2 separate regions of the Homo sapiens genome follow, and region 1 is linked to region 2. The links are contacts of gene promoters, found by promoter capture Hi-C in human tissues and cell types (Jung and others, 2019). All regions are on one chromosome and are shown on one strand. The core of a region is centred on a gene start or on the middle of the fragment in contact, and the rest is flanking DNA. Distances in the headings are between cores, read along the strand shown.

Region 1 (4,266 bases), core at 195-2,694, 80 kb after region 2:
GACCTACAGGATTGTAAATCACTAGATTGGTGTTTTTAAGCTGCTTCATTTGTTATGCAGCAATAGAAAACAAACACCTGTGTTATCTTACAGGCAGTTCACAACCATCCAAAATGGAAGGCTCCTGTCCCCATTGTACAGATGAGGAACAGGACCCATGGGATAAAGAGTTTTGCCATAGGCCACCCAGAAAGACAGCACCACAGCTGAGATTCAAACTCTGGGCTGTCTCTTTCTGAGGCCTGAACTGTTTCCATGTCGCCAGATGGCTTCATAAAGAGGTGTGCGAGCAGCTGAGAAGGTTGTTTGACATCTGGGGCCTGATTAGGTGGGCAGGGACCCTCACGTCCCAGGTCACATGCAGGGAATGGAACACGGGTTTCCGATTCGCTCGTCTCTGTCCTGGGGCTGTGAGTGTCTGAGCCCGTGTGTGTCTGAGGACTGCGGGTCGCCGAGGGTGATAATGGGAGAGTCTGTGAGTGTGAGCCTGCCAAGTGTGTCTCAGTGTACCTGAGTCTGAGGGTGTCAGTCAATCCGTCGGGATGCACCCACACTGGGAGGGATGGAGTCTGTGTGGCTGTGTCTTGGCGTGTGTGTGCTACTCTAGTGTGTCTGAGGGTGAAGGTGTGTGCATCTGGCCGTGTCAGTCAGAGTGTTTGACAGTGCTGAGATGATCACAGGGGGAGGCGACACAGAGTGTGTGCTGGGTCTGGGCTTGTGTGTTCATCTGAGTGTATGAATGTGTGTATGAATTCTGGGGTGTCTTTGGTAAGTGTGAATGCATGAGACTGTGTATGCCTACCTGAACTTCGTGGGGTTTTGTGGCATCTGAGAGTCTCCCCGTGAGGGAGGCCGGGCACCAGGGATGTCCTGCCTACCTCCCTGAGTGTGTTTGCAGGTCTCTGCGTGAGTCTGCGTGTGTCCGTGGACGTGTCTGTCCCCGCATCTGTGAGGGGGTGGGTCTGTGGGTGTATCTGTCCGGGTGTCTGCGGGGCATGTTGCAGAGTGAATGTGTAGGTGTGGGTGCCTGTTTGAGCTTCTCTGTGGGTGCAGGTGTGAAGCCGAGGGTCTCTGTGTGGGAGGCCGAGTGCCGACCCGCCTGGGCGGGACCCTTTGAGCGCATCCCCTCCGAGCGCGCCAGTGTCTCTGGGAGAGGCCTGTCTGGGTGAGGGACTGGACGCCGGCCTCTCCGCAAGTCGGCCGGCTGAGGGTGGGGGCCGAGGCGGGGTCGGGAACAGCCCTCGGACCAGGGCCCAGACAACCTCGCCCGGCGCCTGCCTCCCCGCGCGCACCTGCCGGGCCCGGGGGCTGCTAGAAGAGGCCGCAGCCCGCGCCCTCCGGGCTCCCACGCCCCGCAGCGGCGCCCCCTCCCCCGGCGGCACGGATTGGCTGCGGCGCCGCTCCAAGCCCGCCTCGCGCTGCCGGCGGGGGGCGCCGCGGACCAGAGCGCGCTGCGCCGCCACCGCCGCCGCCACCGCCGCCGCCGCCGCCGCCGCCAGCAGCACAGCGCGCCTCGGGCTCCGCGCGCCGCCAGCTCCTGGCCCGCCCGCCGGCCCCGCCGCGCCCGCCAGCCCCGCAGCGGAGCCTCGGCCCGGCCCCGGGCCGCCGCCACCACGCCGCGCGCCGTACTCCGCGTCAAGAATGGGGCGGCCAAGCTGCCCAAGCCGCCCGCCGCCGCCGCCGCCGCCGCGGCCGAGGCGCCCGGCGCCGGCGCGGGCATGGAGCGCTCGCAGAGCCGCCTCAGTCTGTCCGCCTCCTTCGAGGCGCTCGCCATCTACTTCCCGTGCATGAACTCCTTCGACGACGAGGACGCAGGTAAGCGCGCGGCCCGCCCCCCAGACCCCCGGGGTGTCCCGGGATCCAGGTCCGGTAGCCCCCTCCCCGACCCGTGCGCCCTCCTCCCCACCCCCAATCCCCTGGGAAGGCGCCCCCAGGGTCTCCTTCCGCACCCACGGGACCCCAGGGTCTCCAGGATGCGCTACCTTCTGGCCTTCTCCCCCAGGGACCCCGAGATTGTCTGCATTCACCTTTCCCGCAGGTGGGCCCTTTGGGTCGCCAGGACCCATCTCCCTCCTCACCCGCGCCTATTGGAGGCCCCTTGCCTCGTCCCTGGAGCCGACCTGCCACCCTCCCTGAGTCTCCTGAATGTGCCCACTCTTCAAGCCCTGGGCTTTGGCCGTCCCACCCCTGGGGCTCCGACGCGCCCCCCGCCATTGGAGGTGGCGCGCAGACCTTACCTCTCCATCTTTGTCTTGGCCACATCCAGAGGATCCCTGCCCAAGACCCCTGCCCGGCGCCCCAGGCCTTGAGCGCCCCCATTTATCTCTCCTCTCCTTCCCTCATGGGCTGGGGCTCCAGACTCCTGCTTCTTATACGCCTGGGGCAGACGGAGGGGAACCGGCCAGGTGACGGCCTTTCCTCCCCTCTCTTCCCGGAGAGAGGTGTAGGGCGGCGCCAACTCTACACTTGTCCGCCCGCTGGTGTGTGCCCCTGACCTCAGGTGCTCTTGTCCCTGGAGTCGCCTTTCTTGGTGGGCTGAAGCCGGCCACCAGCCAGCGGCTTGAACCTCCTCCTCCCAGGCCTGCGCACAACCTCAGCCAGAGCGAGGGGTGGGGAGCTGTAGGGAAACCTACTCTTTAGGGCCCTGGGACCCGGCAGAAGGAACATGAGAGCTCCGGATTTGGTTCTGGGGTGAGGAAGGGAATCCACCAACAGGTGGGGTAGCTAGAGGGCTTGGGTGAGAGTTCCCCAAAGAATGCCAGATTGGGAATCGGAATCAGGTTCCAGTCTTCATTCTCTACTTCTTAGCTGTGACCTTGGGCAAGTCATGCCACCTCTGAGCCTGGATTTCCTCATCTCTGAAATGGGGATCATCGTATCGATGCAAAGCTCTGTATGGTGTGAGGGTGGAGTTCAGTGTTTTATAAGGTGAAAATCCGAGAGTCTTTGAATTCAATGGGGGAACAAAACAGAGGAGTGTATGTGCTGGAGGAGTGTATGTGCTTGAGGAGCAAAATGGTTTCATGGGCACTTTCAAGTCTCTGAGGAAAACATGGACTATCTCTCCCGAAGTGCATATATGCACCATCCACAAAATGTAGCCTACGGTTTTAGGAAGTTCCTGGGCCCAGGTTTAGACTTAGTCTTTGGGGACCCTTGTCTGATCAACCTGGCCACCAAGGTTCCATCATGGGATGAAGTGGTGGGCATGTCTTCCTGCCCTTTCTCCAGAAGAATTTGTTGACTGGTGAATGAATGGGGATAGGTGAGGCAGATCCCCAATAGACCTGTCTTTCTATTGACCTGGAGGTGGGGATGGGGGTAAGGGTAAAGATGATTACTGCAGAGACATTTTACCATTTTTATAATCACCATTTTACAGAAAAAAACAACTGAGGCTCAGAGGTTTAACTTCTGCCTTCATGTAGCTGAGGGAGGTTGTATTATTATTCTGGACAAGGCAAGGTGGGAAGAAGTAGGGGGCTCCCCAACACAGTAGAGTGGTCAGCAGTCCACTTGGATCTCAAGAGCCAGGCTGGGCAGGAGCATGGGTTTGTAGGAGCATCAGAGGCAGGAGCGGTTTAGTTTTTCTTCAAAGTCATGCTGTGTGTCATGGGTCAAACACCTTGGTTATTGCAGGCTGCAGGCAACTTGCTCTGGTTTCACTTAAGTCAGAACAGATAACTTCAAGTAGTATTAATGATATTTTTAAAGGTCCACTCATGTTTGTTTTTTCCAGCAGCCTTCTTGAAATTCTTTAGTATTTCACTTGGAAGAGACCTAGAAATCATCTTGTCTATCCCCTTTTTGCCCGCAAATGGATGGGGGTGTGTGTGTATTTGTGTGAGTGTTTGTGTGTGTGTGACTGAAGCCCTGGAATGGGTGTGTGTGTATATATATATATATACACACACACATATATATGCCAAGGTCATCTAGTGAGGCAGCCACAGAGCTGAGACTAAAATCAGGTTTATGGTTCTCTTTCCATTAAACCAGTAGCCCTCCCTCTGAAAGAGGATTTTTAAGAAATCCAGACCTTACTGTGTAGAAAATGTTTCCCAGGTGAGGAGGCCTGGGGGTGCGGCTGGCGACCAAGAGTTTGGTTTGGGCATCTTGTGCTCACTGTCTGTTCTTGAGGGATGCTTCAAATTTGGGAGGGGGAGGGAGAAAGTCAACTTTCATTTCCGGAAAAATAATGAATGTCTGGTGAAAGTCAGAAGTAGGCAGCGTTGTCTTGGTGCTTAATTTCTCCTGTTCTCCTTA
Region 2 (3,873 bases), core at 205-2,704:
CTCTCCTTAGAAAGCCAACCAGACAGAACTAGAGGAAATAGGTTTAAAGGTAGCTAGGTCGTGACTTAAAAAGAGATGTTATTAATAAAGTGCATGTATGTTTTTCTAGATGAGATAAAAATCAAAGGCCAAAGCAGATAAAGAAATGAGAATAAGGAAGAAAACTGACAAGAAAATCTGAAAAATCTAGGCTCGAATGTTTCAATGGGGTAAGGAACTGATCACATATTCTGAACAGCATTCACAGATGTACCATTCCAGATAGAGCATCCACAGCACTGTACAGCAGAAGTTTTAGTTCTGGAGTCTCTCTGCTGAAGAAAAATCAGATGCCAAGCTACTGCAGAAGGGACTGAGAAAGTCAGTGGGACCAGGTGGTTAGTGGGTGTTACCCAGAAAAAGTTAAACACTCCTGGCTCTCAGAGAAAACTACTCACTAAAAAACACCCACTATAAAACTGTCTGTGTGCCATTCTACATATAAAATTTAGAGTCCTGTAATAAATTTAATTCCATTCAAACATTTGCAGGTTCTTTGTTAGGAAACAAAACACAGCATATCTGTAATACAAAGTCATTAGCACTAAGTCCAGTGAACACTGAATTTGGAGAGAAACTGCATTTCTATTATTTCAAAATCCCTTCCCTCTTTCACATCAGCTGTTGCATATCATTGCTAATTATGTCCAATTAGCCATGATTAAACTTACTGAGGGTGTTAAGTGACAGGCGCAAGGTTACACATGTGACTTAATGGTAGATATGACAATAAATTGACTTCTTGGCTTAAGTAATCAATCCAAAAGACACTATGTTAATTCTGATCCATAAAGACAGCCCAATTGGTTGACCTTATGAATAATTTCTACAGTTTGGGGCCCACTGACATAATGAAGCCTATCAGTCTGATTTACCAGTACCGCACACCAAGTCCACAGGCTATGTGACCTCTGTGAATTTGTTTTCTCATCCATAATACAGGCAAATCTGGGCTGGGCGTGGTGGCTCACGCCTGTAATCCCAGCACTCTGGGAGGCCGAGGAGGGTGATCACTTGAGGTCAGGAGTTCAAGACCAGCCTGGCCAACATGGTGAAACCCCGTCTCTACTAAATATATAAAAAAATTAGCCGGGTATAGTGGCAGGCGCCTGTAATCCCAGCTAATTGGGAGGCTGAGGCAGCCTGAAGGCAGAGGCTGCAGTGAGCTGAGATCACGCCACTGCACTCCAGCCTAGGCGACAGAGCAAGACTCTGTGAAGAAAAAAAAAAACATAGGCAAATCTACTTACTAGGGTTCCTGTAAGGAGTAAACCTGTTTATGATATAAAACAGTAAGCACTCAAATAAATGGCAACCACAGTACATTCCACACAAAACTTAAAAAACCAATGGTCAGCCAGTGAAGGGAAACTTACTATGTACCTCATTTATTTTACACGTACTCTGCTTTCTTTAAAGACTTTTAAAAGAAAGGCACATAACAATTTCCCTATGCTTATTTCTAAAATGGCCCTTATCACAGTTTACTGCAATGCAAGTGTCTCTGCTGGCTCCCACACCGGATTGTGAGCTTAAAGTAGGAATCCAGCCAGGCGTGGTGGCTCACGCCTGTAATCCCAGCACTTTGGGAGGCCGAGGCAGGTGGATCGCAAGGTCAGGAGTTCAAGACCAGCCTGGCCAAGATGGCGAAACCCTGTCTCTACTAAAAATACAAAAATTAGCTGGGCGCAGTGGCAGGCGCCTGTAATCCCAGCTACTCAGGAGGCTGAGGCAGGAGAATTGCTTGAACCCGGGCTTCAGAGGTTGCAGTGAGCCAAGATCGTGCCACTGCACTCCAGCCTGGGTGACAGAGTGAGACTCCATCTCACAAAAAAAAAAAAAAAAAAAAAAAAAAGTAGGAATCCAGACTTGTATCTTTGGACACCCAATGTGGAGTACAAGGCCTAGCACACTGAGTGACTGCTTGATCAACTGATGCATTCTTAAAAAGTGAAAAAGCAATTATTTCCTACGTGGACAGAGGAAGGTAGCACACATCTGACCTATAAAATACAGACTGTTTTTATTGTCTTAGACTACTTTTTGAAAAAAGCCAGCCAGCTCTCATCAGGAGCAACACTATACATTTTGACTAATATTTTTCAGCTACCAATCATTGTATTTATAGATTCAAACTGACTTTCAACAAGCCTTTGGATTACTTTCTGTCCATCTCCTCCATTCAGAAGTCCAATCAGTTCGCTATACAAAAAGTTCACTATACAGAAACCCAAACCAGCTAACTCGTTTAGTAAATAACAAAAATATCCATCCATCATTTATGGCCTGCAAAGCACTCAGGGATTCCTAGAAACGCATTTGATCCTAAGTATCCTATGAGGCAGGTGACATTGTCCCGTTTTATAAATGCAAAGAGTTAACTCATTCAGGGTCACACAGCTATATATGGCAGATCTGGGATCTAAACCAACATTAATTTTAAAATTAATGCTCTTTCCTTTATGTAACCCTATCTCCTAAAGATCAATTATGAACTCCAATGCTCACTTAAGGAAAAGAGAGAATTGTCAACTTTTAAAAGAACTATACAAGGTTGTTACAGTGAAATTTTAAAACTGGCCTATTAAGCTAATGTTATCTAGCTTTAAAAATAAAAACAAAATCAAGGAGTTAAAAACAGCATAAAAACATGCCAAAGACTTACCAAAATGTCAAACAAATTTTAAAGGAAAGCTCTTAGCTGAGGGCAAATAATAATAATAGACAGGACTCATATCTACTTTATTGTAGCCTTCAATCTTCTTGTCCTGGTCAAGGCCATTCAGAAATAACCTCCTGTTGGTTCTTTTAGGGAAAACAATAAAATAAACTAACCAGTACGGGAAAAACTTACATAATAAAGAACTGGCCAGAATTTAAAAAAAAAAAAAAAGTTAACTAACCTACAATCTGCTAGGAATGACTTGAGGCCACTGATCATTTACATCTCATTACAAGTATCAGATACATATAACCACACCTCTATTAGAAAATCTTTTAGTTGAGAAAGCAGTAAGATGATTGGCCTTCAGCACACATATCATGAGACAGAAAGCACTTTTAGTCTGTTTCCTCAAGTATTCCCCTTAGAAAAATTCCCTCAGAATCCAGCTCCAACCGTTAGTTTCTCCATCATGCAATACAGATGACTGCTAAGATCATATTCACATAGAGATCAAAAGGATTCTAAAGCTTAAAGGTTGCTATTATGTAACCATAATTTCTTGCCCCTTAACTAGTGAATTGTCATCTTTCCCTAGAAAAATGTAGAAACAAGGAACTTAAAAGTATCTCTACAAGGAAATTTTAGTTCATTCTCTAAGGTACCAGCATTTAAAGGAAAACTCAGTTTGTTGACACCGAAAGAGCAGGTAGCACAACAGGATGTTTTAATTTAGAAGTTTCTCTCTATTTACGTAGATATATTTCCTCATTTCCTCCCTGCCAACAAAATGAGAAAAATCTGAACATCTACTGATGAAGTCGTAAGATAAACAAAAATTAATGGTCACAATCAAATTCTATTAGATGAAGAACCTAAAATTCTATGCCAAAGTAACTGATGACTTTCTCCCTAGTATGAAGCAAGTACTAGAAAAACTGGATTGTTCACAAGCTTGCTTCCTGATGCATGCTAGCAATTATCATCCCTACAGGCCAGAATGGGTATATGCTCCACAATAAATTGTCCTGTATCTATCTTCAAAAATAGCTAATATTCCCATTCAAACGTTTACTTTATTAGGATTGGTGTAAAGAAAAATTAAGGACTAAATGGTGTTCACATAAAACATATACATGTGCTGTCTCTACCACATGCAGAAATCTATAATA

The links. Contacts are between HindIII fragments. The study calls those that stand out against the background at their distance.
Region 1: the fragment with the promoter of RIMS4 here is called in contact with a fragment that was not itself captured in region 2 in 2 of the 25 tissues and cell types used here (H1 embryonic stem cells and dorsolateral prefrontal cortex).

Annotation. Positions count from the first base shown.
Region 1 is chr20:44,807,724-44,811,989 of GRCh38, reverse strand. RIMS4 (regulating synaptic membrane exocytosis 4) reads left to right here and starts at 1,444. Exons shown (of 6, transcript NM_182970.4): 1 at 1,444-1,815. The coding sequence starts at 1,719. The HindIII fragment of the contact is 17,434 bases long and covers 1-4,266 here.
Region 2 is chr20:44,888,522-44,892,394 of GRCh38, reverse strand. The region is part of intron 1 of YWHAB (tyrosine 3-monooxygenase/tryptophan 5-monooxygenase activation protein beta); the gene reads right to left. Among named protein-coding and RNA genes, the nearest start is that of YWHAB, 4.8 kb to the right of the region's middle. The HindIII fragment of the contact is 5,673 bases long and covers 1-3,873 here.